Regions from separate parts of the Homo sapiens genome. Here region 2 is linked to region 1. Evidence: promoter capture Hi-C in human tissues and cell types (Jung and others, 2019). All regions are on one chromosome and are shown on one strand. The core of a region is centred on a gene start or on the middle of the fragment in contact, and the rest is flanking DNA. Distances in the headings are between cores, read along the strand shown. Region 1 holds the start of CCNL2 (cyclin L2). Region 2 holds the start of LINC01342 (long intergenic non-protein coding RNA 1342).

The links. Contacts are between HindIII fragments. The study calls those that stand out against the background at their distance.
Region 2: a contact is called between a fragment that was not itself captured here and the fragment with the promoter of CCNL2 in region 1, in 1 of the 25 tissues and cell types used here (lymphoblastoid cells).

What each region holds. Positions count from the first base shown.
Region 1 is chr1:1,396,628-1,403,335 of GRCh38, forward strand. CCNL2 (cyclin L2) reads right to left here and starts at 2,708. Exons shown (of 11, transcript NM_030937.6): 1 at 2,392-2,708; 2 at 1,970-2,044; 3 at 1,606-1,715. The coding sequence starts at 2,679. It overlaps MRPL20-AS1 (MRPL20 antisense RNA 1), which reads left to right and starts at 2,903. Exons shown (of 3, transcript NR_015434.1): 1 at 2,903-3,062; 2 at 3,531-3,676; 3 at 3,978-5,419. It overlaps MRPL20 (mitochondrial ribosomal protein L20), which reads right to left. Exons shown (of 4, transcript NM_017971.4): 4 at 5,282-5,629. The coding sequence ends at 5,456. RefSeq lists silencers at 2,421-2,600, 2,671-2,910, 3,201-3,260 and an enhancer at 3,646-4,189. The HindIII fragment of the contact is 25,727 bases long and covers 1-6,708 here.
Region 2 is chr1:1,132,789-1,139,496 of GRCh38, forward strand. LINC01342 (long intergenic non-protein coding RNA 1342) reads left to right here and starts at 4,229. Exons shown (of 3, transcript NR_038869.1): 1 at 4,229-4,322. The region is part of intron 1 of LOC124903820 (a long non-coding RNA gene); the gene reads left to right. RefSeq lists a cis regulatory region at 2,062-3,146, silencers at 4,098-4,157, 4,178-4,427, 4,528-4,717, 4,778-4,857, 4,928-5,027 and enhancers at 5,559-6,060, 6,061-6,560. The HindIII fragment of the contact is 9,857 bases long and covers 1-6,708 here.

The sequences.
Region 1 (6,708 bases), core at 1,458-3,957:
TGGAGTGCAATGGCACAATCTCAGCTCACTGCACCTCTAACTCCCCGGTTCCAGCGATTCTCCTGCCTCACCCTCCCGAATAGCTGGGATTACAGGCACCCGCAACCACACCCGGCTAATTTTTTTTTTATTTTTTTTTGAGACGGAGTCTTGCTCTGTCGCCCAGGCTGGAGTGCAGTGGCCCGATCTCAGCTCACTGCAAGCTCCACCTCCCGGGTTCACGCCATTCTCCTGCCTCAGCCTCCCAAGTAGCTGGGACCACAGGCACCCGCCACCACGCCTGGCTAACTTTTTTGTATTTTTAGTAGACGGGGTTTCACCGTGTTAGCCAGGATGGTCTCGATCTCCTGACCTCGTGATCCACCCGCCTCGGCCTCCCAAAGTGCTGGGATTACAGGCGTGAGCCACTGCACCTGGCCAATTTTTGTGTTCTTAATAGGGACAGGGTTTCACCATATTGGTTAGGCTGGTCTCGAACTCCTGACCTTAGGTGATCCACCTGCCTAGGCCTCCCAACGTGCTGGGATTACAGGCCAGCCCGGCCAGAGGCTGTGTTTTCTAAAGGACTTCAATTAACTTCAGGTGCATAAACCCTGGGCTAAGGTCAGAGGCAGCGGTTCTCTGCTGGAGAAATTTTACTATTCCAGGGCCATGAAGCAACATCAACAGACTTTCGTTTTTTTTGGAAACAGGGCCTCACCCTGTTGTCCAGGCTGGAGTGCAGTGGTGACATCACAGCTCACTGCAGCCTCAATCTCCTGGCCTCAAGCAAACCTCCTTTTTCAGTCTCCCAAGTGCTGAGATGACAGGTGTGAGCTCCCACATCTGGTATGAGAGAATTTCTGGCTGTCACATCTAAGGTGGGGTACTCCTGTCATCCAGTGAGTCGAGACCAGGGATGTTGCTGAATCCTGCAGCACACAGGAGAATCCCCTACAACTAAAGATTACCCAGCCAGATGCGGTGGCTGAAATCTGTAATCCCAGTGCTTTGGGAGGCTAAGGCCAGCAAATCCTTGGAGCCCAGGAATTTGAGACCAGCCTGGGCAACACAGCATGACCCCATCTTTACCAAATAAAAAATAAAAATTAGCTGGCATGGTTGGCGTGCTCCTATAGTCCCAGCTACTCAGGAGGCTGAGGCAGGAGAAACTCTTGAGCCTAGGAGGTTGAGGCTGTAGTGAGCCATGATCATACCACCGCACTCTGCCCTGGACAACAGGAAACCTGTCTCAGGAGGAAAAAAAAGATTATCCAGCCTGAATGTCAATAGTGCTGAGATTAAGATTCCCTGCTCCAGAGCACTCAGAAACTTGTGGGACAGAAGCAGCAGCAGGGCCGTGCACTGACATGGGTAAAGCAGGAAGCCAGCCCCAGCGCGACCCGCCACAGCGCACTGTCCTCACTGGAGCCCCTGCCCTTACTAAACCGCATCTACTGATGCCTCTGAGCAGGCTCTGTTGGTGGAGCTTGAGACTGCGCTCATGAATATCCCACAGGTTTAGAGCCTCAGGCCTGTATTGTGTTATACAAGCCTTACTGTAACTTAATCAGAAATAAAGAAAATAGGCATCTATGATAGACTAGACAGCTCTGACTGACTCACTTTTTGTCTCTCAGCTGTCGAAGGCGGTGAAACACATTGATGACGTCCCGTATGCGTCTTGGGGCCTCTTCTATCTTGGAAGCCAGGTGGACACAGGCCATTGACACATGCTGAAGCGGAAGCATTGCAACACGCCCATGTTTGTCCCCAGCCACGGCGTCCTGACGGCCGCCAAAGGCTTGAGGGCTATTCAGACCAAAAGGGAGGTGCACCCAGGGGAAAAAAAAAGTCAAGAAACAGAACCCTCCGGCACAGAGCTCAGACTGGGGGGCAAGTACTCACTCCCTTAGTAACCGGGCAAAGTAACAAACCGTTTTACCCTCAACATACTTCGCTGGGAATGAAGTGCAGGAGGAAGCCTTACCTCCATGGAGTGCTTCACGAAGGACTTGGTATAAAAGAACCGCTGGAACAACACCTGCCCGGTAGCCATGGCCACCTAGAGTAGAAGAAAGTTTCCGTATTTTCAAACGCACCATTCAAAGCCTTCGCGGCCGAAAGTCATCGAGTAACGTGGGACTCCCCACGCAGAACCAAACACTGAAACGCTTCCCACGTCCACAAAGGCTCTTCGCGTCCCGCCGTCTCGGGATCCAGCGCACTGGCGGGCGGGGAGGCCCCGGGTCAGGGGCATGGGCTGGCTAGGGAATGGCGCCGAGGCTGGGGTCGGGGCAGGGGCTGGGGTCGGGGTCTAGGCGGGGGCGGTGCGGGCCCGACTCGCCGCCAACAAAGGCGGCTGCCGCCCCAGCGGTTACCTGGGCCGGAGGCTCGCGGCCGCGCCCTCACCTGCGGCAGGCGGAGCAGGATACCGGCCGCCTGGATGAGCTCGCAGCCCACCACGCGGAGGTCGGTCTCTGTGTCGGTGTCGAGGCCGCTCGACATGGACGGCGTGAAACGGAGCTTGTCGTCAGGCAGGAGGCAGTTCTCCAAGGTGATGAGCACCCCGGAGTACAGCCTGTCCCCGATCAGCACCCCCTGCGACCCTGAGGGTGCGCCCCCAGATCCCGGGGCGCCGGCCGCTGCCGCGGGAGCTGCCGACCCTGCAGCACCAGCCGCCGCCGCCGCCGCCGCCATTTTGTGCCGCCGACTCCCCTTCGGCTTCTTCCCTCAGGGCGGCTCCTCGCGAAGCTCCACGGCCGCCACCGCCCCGCCCCGTCGCGTGCCATTGGTTCGGCCCGCGACCAGCGCGACGCCGCCTAGCCGCAATTGGCTACATAACCTGCCCGTCAGCAACGCGCCTAACGCCGACGCCGGAACCTGGCGCGGGTGGGGCGGGCTCGTTACCCAGGGGACTCCGCGGTGCCGGCCGACCCGGAAGCATGTCTGTCCCTAGCGGAGGCGCGGGTGCCGTGCTGAGAGCGCCTGCCTGTGCGCCCCGAGCGGGGCTGGGACTCTTCCAAGATGCCCACGTTCGCACAGAGACCCCGGATCGCGGAAGCTCGCGTCTCGAAAGGCCTGTGGGTCAAGGGGGGCCATCTCGGTGGGATCTGGGGCGGGACGACCCCCACTGCTGAACCCTGGGCGCGGGGCAGGGTCAGAGGCTCCGCTCGGCCTCCCCCTGGATGAGACGCGCATGCCCGGTGTCCCCCGGCCGCCGTCGGCGTCGTGTCTTCAGTCCTTATCGACTCCAGACTTTGGGGATGCGTATTAACGCCAGACTCCTGCAAAGTCTTGCCTTCAACACTCAGCCCCTGGGGAGAGACGGGTGGAGGGATGACTGGAAACGTGGCCTCGACGTCCCTACAGAGCCCCTCCAGCGTGGGGAGGCCTAAGTACCTCAAGGTTCAGGCCCACGGAAGGAGTCGGGGGAGCGAGGCCCGGTGATCTACGTGTGAAGGAGCTTGGACAGGACCTCACAAACGCCAGGGAGACGGCGAGGGGGTTCGTGCGTTTGTAACGTCTTGACATCGCTGATCCTCCCGCAGGCGGTCTCACGCCCTGCCCGTCCTGGGTTCACGGTTTTTCATCACCTGCGGCTGTCCTGCGATCGACCACAGCTGTGCAGGAGGGGCAGGAGGTATCTGTTGCTGCAGTTACCGGAACCTTTGCCAGGACTAGTACAGGACCACGGGTGAGGATGGTGGGGAAGCCTGCGTGGGGCAGGGAACGGTGAGGCAGGAAGAGGGAAGGGCAGCAGAGGCCTGAGTGGTTGCAGGTTCACACACTGAGCTGCCAGTAACTGCCCAGCTCAGACGGGCTCAAATTCAGAAGCCACCATTGCTCCTCACCCCCACCCCCAGGTCAGCTGTCCACTAGCTCTGCCATGACTTGATACTGCAGCTCAAACAGTGCCAACCAAAACCCACTCTCCTCACCGCCTGTTATGGGTAACACGGTATGGTTACAGCTTTACTCATGTCCTCTTTCCCCAGGCTGGTAGCTCAGGGATGTCTCGTCTGTGAGTTACAGCTGCACGCTCTCCAGGAAAGAAGGAATTTCCTCTTCTCTGGAAACCCCACCACACAGCTGGTTTCTCATTGGTGCTGCTTGCCCATTCCCTGAGCTGTGACTGCCAGAGGAGTGGGAGGTTGGTGGTGCCTCCAGCCCATCAGGGGCAGGCCCTGGGACCGCCTGGGAACAGGAGGACTATGGCACAAACCGAGTGAGTGATGGGAGCAACCCGCAGGGCTCTGCCACATCCCTGTCTTCCTTCACTGACATGAAACGCAGAAAAGGCAGCTTTGCCACAACACAGGAGCACGCACCGAATGTGGCCGCCCAGGGCTCTGTCCTTGACCCTGTTGTCCAGGACTGTTTACCAAGGGCTGACAGGCACTGAGTGCCCCGTGCACCTGGCCAGACACTGCACTCATGCAGCGGAAAGGACAGTGAACGAGACTTTGTCCCTGGCCTCCAAAGGCTTAGGGCGTAGTGGCTGTCATGAGGCACAGTGACAAGGGCCAGGAGGGGGACCTCTTAGGGGGCCATGCAGTGATGGAAGCCAGAAGGAATGAAGGCCTGCAGTGAGGATGGAGTGGTCGGCCTGAAGCCATCTCTAGCAAGTGGTCAGGACGCTGATTGTTCTGCGCAGGTTGGAGGTAGGTGGTGAGTCTGAGAAAGGGGCCGGAAAGACTCCCCAGCAACTGCTGGCAAAGGGTGAAGGGCACGTTCCCACAGGATTCAAGCCAGCTGCCTTTGGAGGGGAGACGGGCACTCAGTTTAGGCGCTCCTACAGCAGGGTCAGCAAGACAAGCAGGTTGCGGCAAGGGTCTGCGCACTGCTGTGTAAATGTAGGGGCATCGGGGGGCAGAAAGACCAGGGGAGAAGTGTGCATCACCCTTGGGGTTAAGGGACAGTTGTCTGCTAGGTGTTGCTTCCTGGAGATGGCTGAAAAGCCAGTCCAGTCTGCAGGGACCAGGCCACCACCCACCTGATGTGGGAGCATTTCCCCCAATCCCTGCTGGGCTGCTGAATCTGGGGGACATAGGGAAGCTGAGGCTGGTGTTCTGAGTAGTGGCAGAGCTGAGCCACAGGGCATGTCTGAGGTCAGCCCCGAGCAAAATGGAATAGGGACTCAGGGTGGGTCAGGTAACTGGAAAGCGGGCACTGTGCACGCAGCCCTTGAGGGGAGCCAGGGTGGGTGGGGATCCCCCACTGTGTGCAGAAGGCAGCAGCCTTGGAAGCAGGGTGTGCTCCTCGGTGTGGTCGCTCGATACCAGAAAATGACTCTAAAAACTGAAGAGTGTTTGAGTTTCATTCACACAAAACATGGACATCATCTGTGAGGCTCTGTCCCAGAGAGACAGGGCCATCCCTCATGTCTGTTATTGGGTTGTAGATAAACAAAAGTATAAATCAAACAAACTGCAAATTACTCTGTCTCTTTTCCTAATCAATACAGCAACAGTCCTCAGTGGTACTGCACCACTCTGGAAAAAATGCCTTCAGGTTCCTTCCCATCCCCCAAGGCAGCAGCAAATCCTTCGTGTCGCCTCCTACTGGCCAAGGCAGCCAAAGATTTGAAAGTCTTTGGCTCGTAGATGGCCAGATCCGCTAGGACTTTCCTGTTGAGCTCCACCTGGCACTGAAAAAAGAATGAATCAGAACCTGCTGTCAGTGTGAGACACACACTCCGGCTCCGCGTGGTTGCGGCGCTGGCTCAGGAAGAACCCAGCTGCACACTCGCCTGGGGGGAGGGAAGGCCTAGGAGAATCCTATCTGGGTGGCACAGCAGAGGACTTCCAGGCAGGATGCTGAAGGATAAATGTGGACACGGGTGAGGGAAGCACCTGTGGAATCTGCAGGGAGGCTGGACTCCAGTCCTGATGTCGGCCCGGGGAACCAAACACCTTGTTCAGGGTCCTTGGTCACCACCCTGACTGAGCTGACTGCTGGCCTAGGGTAACCCTTTAAGCCAACCTGGAAGTGCCTGCAAGAACCACAGAGGATTTCAGAAGCTAGTGAACAATGCCAGAGTTTAAGGAGTAGAAAAGGGGGGCCGTCTCTTTGAGCATTAAATTCAGCTACCAAGGCAGGGCACGGTGTCTCGCCTGTAATCCCAGCACTTTGGGAGGCCAAGGCAGGCAGGTCACCTGAGGTCGGAAGTTCGAGACTAGTCTGACCAACATGGAGAAACCCTGTCTGTACTAAAAAATACAAGAAAAAAAACCACAAGGCCAGGCGCGGTGGCTCATGCCTGTAATCTGAGCACTTTGGGAGGCTGAGGCAGGCGGATCACCAGGTCAGGAGATCAAGACCATCCTGGCTAACACGGTGAAACCCTGTCTCTACCAAAAATACAAAAAAATGAGCTGGGCATGGTGGTAGTCACCTGTAGTCTCAGCTACTCAGGAGGCTGAGGCAGGAGAATGGTGTGAACCCGGGAATTGGAGCTTTCAGTGAGCCAAGATCGCGCCACTTCACTCCAGCCTGAGCAACAGAGTGAGATTGTATCCAAAAAAAAAAAGGAACAAAAACACAAAATTCGGCTACCGAGGACAAAGTGGCCTACTACCTGTGACCTAACTGTACTACCTGTGACCTGTATGCTTTGTGCAAAGTCTGTCTCCTTTCTTTCTTTCTTTTTTTTGAAACAGAGTCTCACTGTGTCGCCCAAGCTGGAGTGCAGTGGTGCGATCTCAGCTCATTGCAAGCTCCACCTCC
Region 2 (6,708 bases), core at 2,157-4,656, 260 kb before region 1:
AGGCGGCCTCTGCGCAGGTCCGTCCCGTGTCCCTCTGCCCTAACCTCCTCCTGCAACTAGGACACCAGTGGGACCCGGCCAGGGCTCATCCTCACGGCTGCTTCCCACATACTCACCTGTCTCGTAGCCCCTTCTCCACACACGCTCGCGTTGTTGGTACTGAGAGTTTGGATTCTAACCATGAACTCTGGGGGCACAACCTGCCAGAGGGGTCACTGTGTAGCCCGGGGGACCTTGCAATGTCTCATCCTTAAAACCCCAGGAAGAGCAGAGCTCTGCTGCGTGTGCTCGCGGGTTCCGCCTGAGAGCAGGGTGGTTCCGGGCTGTGTGTTCCGCCTGAAAGCTGAGTTTTAGGAGCAAGCAGGAAACACAGAGGAGAAGGACCAGGAACCCTGGGGAGCCCGGGGGAGCTACAGGTGGAGAAAACTGCCCTGAGAGTGGTGGGGAGGGCAGGTCACACCCACCCCAGGGAAGGTCGCTTGGGTTTACGTGGAGACGTTGTTTTGGGGTGGCGGGGCCTGGGTGTCCAGCATCCCTGGTACATCCCTCCTGGTGGGGTCCTGCCAAGGATGACGCTCCGGCTGGGTGGGCACTGCAGTCTCAATGCTCGGGGTCCGGTGTGGGGGGCTCCCGGTGGCTGCACCCCTCGCCCTGCGCCCTGCCCGCCGCCTGCCTGCCCGGCCTCCTCAGCAGATGCTGGGCTCTGACCCCAGCGTCAGGCAGAGGCTGGGCCGGCGGCCAGGACGACTCCGCCTGGGGTTTAATGTTCCACTTCCTCCCCGCTGACTGACCCTACGCAGGCACTGGCCCTACTCTGAGGCCTCCCAGCCTCCCTTCCACAGGTCTGGCTGGGGAGGTGGTTGACGTGGGGAGGGAAAGCTTCCCAGGACGTAGATTTTGTTTTCTTTTCCTGGAAAAGGGCGGCTGCTCATGCTTCCTTGCTGAGGTCCCCTCCTGTGTCCAAGAAAACTTAGTGGTTTTCTCTCTCTCCTAAGAAATACAGGCCTCAGGTAAGGCCGGGCACAGCGGCTCACGCCTGTTATCCCAGCACTTTGGGAGGCCGAGGCGGGCAGATCACGAGGTCAGGAGATCGAGACCATCCTGGCTAACACGGTGAAACCCCGTCTCTACTAAAAATACAAAACATTAGCTGGGCGTGGTGGCGGGCGCCTGTAGTCCCAGCTACTCGGGAGGCTGAGGCAGGAGAATGGCGTGAACTCGGGAGGCGGAGCTTGCAGTGAGCCGAGATGGGGCCACTGCACTCCAGCCTGGGCGACAGAGCGAGACTCCGTCTCAAAAAAAAAAAAAAAAAAGAAAGAAATACAGGCCTCAGGTAACCAGTGCTGTCAAAACATCCCCGCATGGCGAAATCCCTCACGCCCCCCTCCCCACATGCCCGCGTCTGCTTTCTGCCCTGTCCCAAACCATTCACCTCCTCACCCCGCCACCCCAACTCCACTGTCAAACCGTTCACCCCCTCACCTCGCCACCCCGACTCCACTCTCAAAAACCAGAACAGGTCACCAGTGCTTCCCTCCCTAAACAGTTCTGTGCTGTCCTGGGAGCACCAGTAACATCCAGTTCCCCGAGGGACCAGGGGGCTGCCTCAGGGGGGAGGGGTCTCCTGCAGGCCTGGCATAGTGTGGCTGTCCCTACACCCAGACCCTGCACACGGCCCCGCGACACGGGGAGGCTGAGGCCTCGCAGGGCCCTGGGTGTCTCCACCAGCTCCTCGGGGTCCGCTGTCCTGCTGAGGTGCCCGCAGGACCCTCAGTGGGATGGGCACCAGCCCTTTTCAGCGTTCCGCCGAACAGGGGCCCAGAGTGCCTGAGAGGCGCCTGTGTTTGCACATTTGGAGGCCGGTGGGGGTCCGTGCAGGCGCAGAGCCCCACAGTAGCAGGTGGCCCCGTGGGGAGGCTCCCCGATGGGTACATCCCGCAGCAGCATCTGACATCTGAGTCTGCAGCCCCTCTCAGGAGGGGGCACCGTGAGGGGTGTGGCTTCCTCGCCATCTGAGGCTGCAGCCCCTCTCAGGAGGGGGACACCGTGAGGGGGTGGCTTACTCGCCAGGCTCCCTGGGGGCTGGGCAGCGATGGCTGGCTTCCCAGGGGCCTTCCTGAGTCACGGACCCATGGGGTCCTGGCTGACTTTGCCTGCGGCGTCAAAGGGCTTGAATCTCCGTGTAGCCACCGAGGCCTCCACTCCTGGAGACCCCACCCGTGATCCCACCTCCCCCAGGCAGATATCTTGGCTGCAGCCATTGTCCATCCCCCGGGGTCACCGTCCCCTCCCCGCCCCGATGCTCTGACCACCCGGGGGCTCCTCCCGTATCCTTTGGGCCTTCGGGAGACCCCACTCCACCACGGGGGCCTGGATACAGGGTCTTGCCACCTCCCTCCCCAGGGAGGGGCCTGGGAGAGTCTGGAATGGGATGGTCGCAGGCAGTGGGGGCCCTCAGGGTAGGGGCCTGATCTGTGCATTTGGGCACAAATTCCCTGGGCGTAAATGTCACCGGAAAGGGATCCCAAAGAGGGCTCTTGGACCTCGAGCAAGAAACAGTTTGGGGGAGTCCACTGATAAACTGAAAGCAAGTTTAATAGGAAAGTAAAGGAATAAGAGAAGGGCTGCCCCATAGGCTGAGCAGCGGCCTGGGCTACTCCACTGAGAATACTTATTGTTGTTTCTTGATATGTACTAAACATGGTGTGGATTATTCCGGACTTTTCTGGGAAAGGGGCAGGCAATTCCCAGAAGTGAGGGTTCCTCCCTCTTTTAGACCATCTAGGGTAACGTCCTGGCGTTGCCGTGGCAACTAAACTGTCCTGGTGCTGGTGGGCGTGTCTCTCATGCTAATGTATTATAATCAGCGCATAATGAGCAGTGAGGACTGGCTGTCTTGGTTTTGGTGATTTGGGGCCGGCTTCTTCACAGCATCTTGTTTTATCAGCGGGGTCTTTGTGACCAGTCTTGTGCCAACCTCCTATCTCATCCTGTAACTAAGGATGCCTGACCTCATGGGAACGTGGCCCAGCCGGGCTCAGCCTCATTTTACCCAGGCCCTGTGCAAGATGGAGTTGCTCTGGTTCAAAGGTCTCTGACATAAAGACCTCAACCAGGCTGGTCTCACGCTGCCAGGACAGCTGGTGAGTGCAGGTGGGCAGGGGCCACTGCCCCAGCTCCCGTGGGCAAGGCTGAGGGTGAGGGGTTCCGGAGCGTTCCACATTCTCCTTGCAATGCTGGAAGCACGGGTGTCTCCCATCCCGACACGCCTCATTCTGTCTGCAGCTCACAGGGCCCGGCTTCTGCAGCTCACAGGGTCCGGCTTCTGGAAATTCTGCTTTTGCATTTTGTACTCTGTCCAGGGGCCAAAACCCAGGTCTGGAATTGGTGTGGTCCCTGGTGGCACAAACCAGTCCTGGCTAAGAGGCCGGCCCCTCTCACTCCACTGAAGAGACAGGGGGCTGCATGCTGAGAGGGCCAAGGCCAAAAGGAGCCTGCTGCTGTTCACAGCCCCCTGTGTGCCTGGGGCCCACTGTTCACAGCCCTCTGGGTGCCTGGGGGCTGGGCTGGGGGCTACTGCAACCCTTGGCCTATGGTGTGGTCGAGGGAAGGGGAAGGGACAGGGCTTTGAGAAACACGGTGATGGGGGTGAGGGTGGGGACTGGGGACGGTGGGCGTGGAGGTGGAGGCCCTGTGGGTGCTGGGCAGGGCAGAGGAGCTAGGCCAGATGCTGTGTTTGTGTGGGGTGCTGAGTGGCCAGCCTAAAACCTTCTGAGAAAGTAGGATCCAGCACAGGGAGCTTCAGCTTCTCTGATGGGAGGCAGGAGGGGGTCAGGTGGGAGCTGCAGGGCGTGTCGAGCCGGCCCTGCCCTGGGTCCCTGCGGGCCGCCTGGCACACAGGAGGGCGGTTCCTTTCCTGTTGGACCCGGTCTCACTTCATTTGCCCACGTTAATTGGGGCGCAGGTGCAGCTCTCGGGCAAACAAAGGTGCGGTCGCCAGGTGGACTTAACCCTTTCCCTGGCACTGGCGGGGCCTGGGGGGAGGCAGCAGGAGGGGCGGCCGGGTGGTCAGTTTGAGGACCTGGCCCCACGTGCCTTTGTGGGATGGTGGGGACCCCACACCCCCGCTGGCTGGGCTGGGATGGTCGGGCCCTGGGCGGGGCAGGGGCTGCACCTGGGCCTCTGGGCCACCTGCCTGGCTCGGTCGCGCCCCTTCTTTGGTTTCCAGCTAACGACGCGGCGCCCACCGAGAGCTGGGGGAGCCCAGGGCGGGGAGGGCGCGGCCGGAGCGAGCGCCGCCCGGGAAACCCGAGCCCCGCCAGGTGCGCGGGGACAAAGGCGGTGCCGGGAGGGCGGGTCCTGGGGGTCCCCCTGCCCCCTCTGCGGTGCGTTGGGAGCTCCCGTCCTCCTGCGCACACTCAGGGAAAGACCGGAGGAACCGTGGCGGGGGTCGAGGCCGGCGTGGGGTGGGGGCGCCAGGGGGGCGGGCGGGGCCCAGAGCCCGGGACACGCGACGAGGGGCCGGACCCCGAGGATGCGAGGATGCGGGGACCCTGCCCCCGCTGGGCCGGGTTTTGGGGGCCCGGGACACTCAGCCCCGCCCCCCGCAGGCTCTCTGTGGCCCTGGGGTGGGAGGGCTGCGGTCGAGAACCCCCCACGCGGCCCCTCCCCGGAACCCGCAGGCTGTGCACCCTCTGGACTGAAGTCACCCGTCAGTCCCGGCTGGGGGTTTCCGGGAACAGGGCAGGTGCTTTAAAGCAGGGGTGGCCGATCTTTTGGCTTCCCTGGGCCACATTGGAAGAATTGTCTTGGGCCACACATAAAATACACTAACGATAGCTGATGAGCGAAAAAAAAATTGCCAAAAAAATCCCATTATGTTTTATGTTTTAAGAAGGTTTACAAATTTGTGTCGGACCCCATTCACAGCAGCCTGCTGCCATTGGACAGCTTTAAAGCCTGGAGGGCTTGCGACTGGGCGTGTACCCTCCCCGCCTCCCTCCCCCTCTCCCTCCCAGCCCAGCCCTTGGCTGGGTCCTGGGGCGGGGCCCGGGGTCCTCTGTCCAGGAGGTCTGGTTCCCCCAGCAGTGAGTGGGGTGGGCCCTGCAGGGGGTCTTGGCCATTGCAGTGGGGACCCCTGAGCCTGCCAGCAGGAGTGAGGACTCTCAGAGGAAGGGGTTCCCTAAGGGATTCGCACCCCTCCTCTCCCACCAGGCACATGCTCAGGTGTGGCCCAGCCTCTGGGTTCAGGCTCACGTCCTGTGTGGCCTGGAGGGAGTTCACGCCTCAGGGGTGTCTTCCCATCCCAGGAGCCCATGGAGGCCTTCAGGACAGGGCTGTGCGAGAGGAGGTCGTGCCCACGAGTTCCTGCCCGGTGGGAATGAGCAGGGGGCGGGCGGGGGGTCTCAGGGCGAGATCTCCGCTCACCGCAACCTCCGCCTCCCAGGTTCAAGCCACTGTGCCCGGCCTGGGGATTCATTTTAGAAAAGACAAAATGCTGGCTGGGTGCGGTGGCTCACGTCTGTCATCCCAGCACTTTGGGAGGCCGAGGCAGGTGGATCACCTGAGGTCAGGAGTTCAAAACCAGCCTGGCCAACATGGTGAAACCCCATCTCTACTAAAAATACAAAAATTAGCCGGGTGTGGTGGCACATGCCTGTAATCCCAGCTACTCGGGAGGCTGAGGCAGGAGAATTGCTTGAATCTGGGAGGCAGAGGTTGCAGTGAGCTGAGATCACACCACTGCACTCCAGCCTGGGCGACAGAGTGAGACTTCATCTCAAAAAAAAAAAAAAAAAAAAGTGACAAAAGGCCAAGGAAAGGAGAAGGGGCAGGAACATCCTCTGGGCGGTGGGATGGCCACAGTTGGTCCCACCTGGCAGCGAAGGTGGCTGGAGTGACCCATAGGGCCTGGCCCACTCAGACACAACTGTCGGTGCCTCAGGCAATGGTCACCACAGCAGAGGGCTGGGGCACCACACGCTGTGCTTGGGGGAGGTCTGGGGGGATTCTGCGGTGTGAGAACTTAGGGAGAAGCTCTCTGAAGACGGACCTGCCCGTCTGGGGACAGGTTGGGGGGCCTGGGGCTTGCAGTGTTGCAGGTGAACTCTAGGGCCCTATCTCTGCAATGGGACGGCCTCCAGGTCATGGGAGGGCCCAGCCTGCGGGTTCTGGACCCCAGGGGCCACACTGGGCGGGACCCCGTTCACAAGGCGGGAAGGAATCCTGCCCCAGGACCACCCACAGAGGCATCCTGAGCTGCATCCGGGGGAAGCAGGACTCCGAACCGGGGGACCTGGGTCCTGGGGAGCTTCCTGGGGTCAGAAGGTGGGGGTGTCAACGTCGAACCGGGGGACCTGGGTCCTGGGGAGTTTCCTGGGGTCAGAAGGTAGGGGTGTCAATGTCGAACCGGGGGACCTGGGTCCTGGGGAGCTTCCTGGGGTCAGAAGGTGGGGGTGTCAACGTCGAACCGGGGGACCTGGGTCCTGGGGAGCTTCCTGGGTTCAGAAGGTGGGGGTGTCAGCATCGAACCGGGGGACCTGGGTCCTGGGGAGCTTCCTGAGGTCAGAAGGTGGGGGTGTCAGCATCGAACCGGGGGACCTGGGTCCTGGGGAGCTTCCTGGGGTCAGAAGGTGGGGGTGTCAGCATCGAACCGGGGGACCTGGGTCCTGGGGAGCTTCCTGGGGTCAGAAGGTGGGGGTGTCAGCA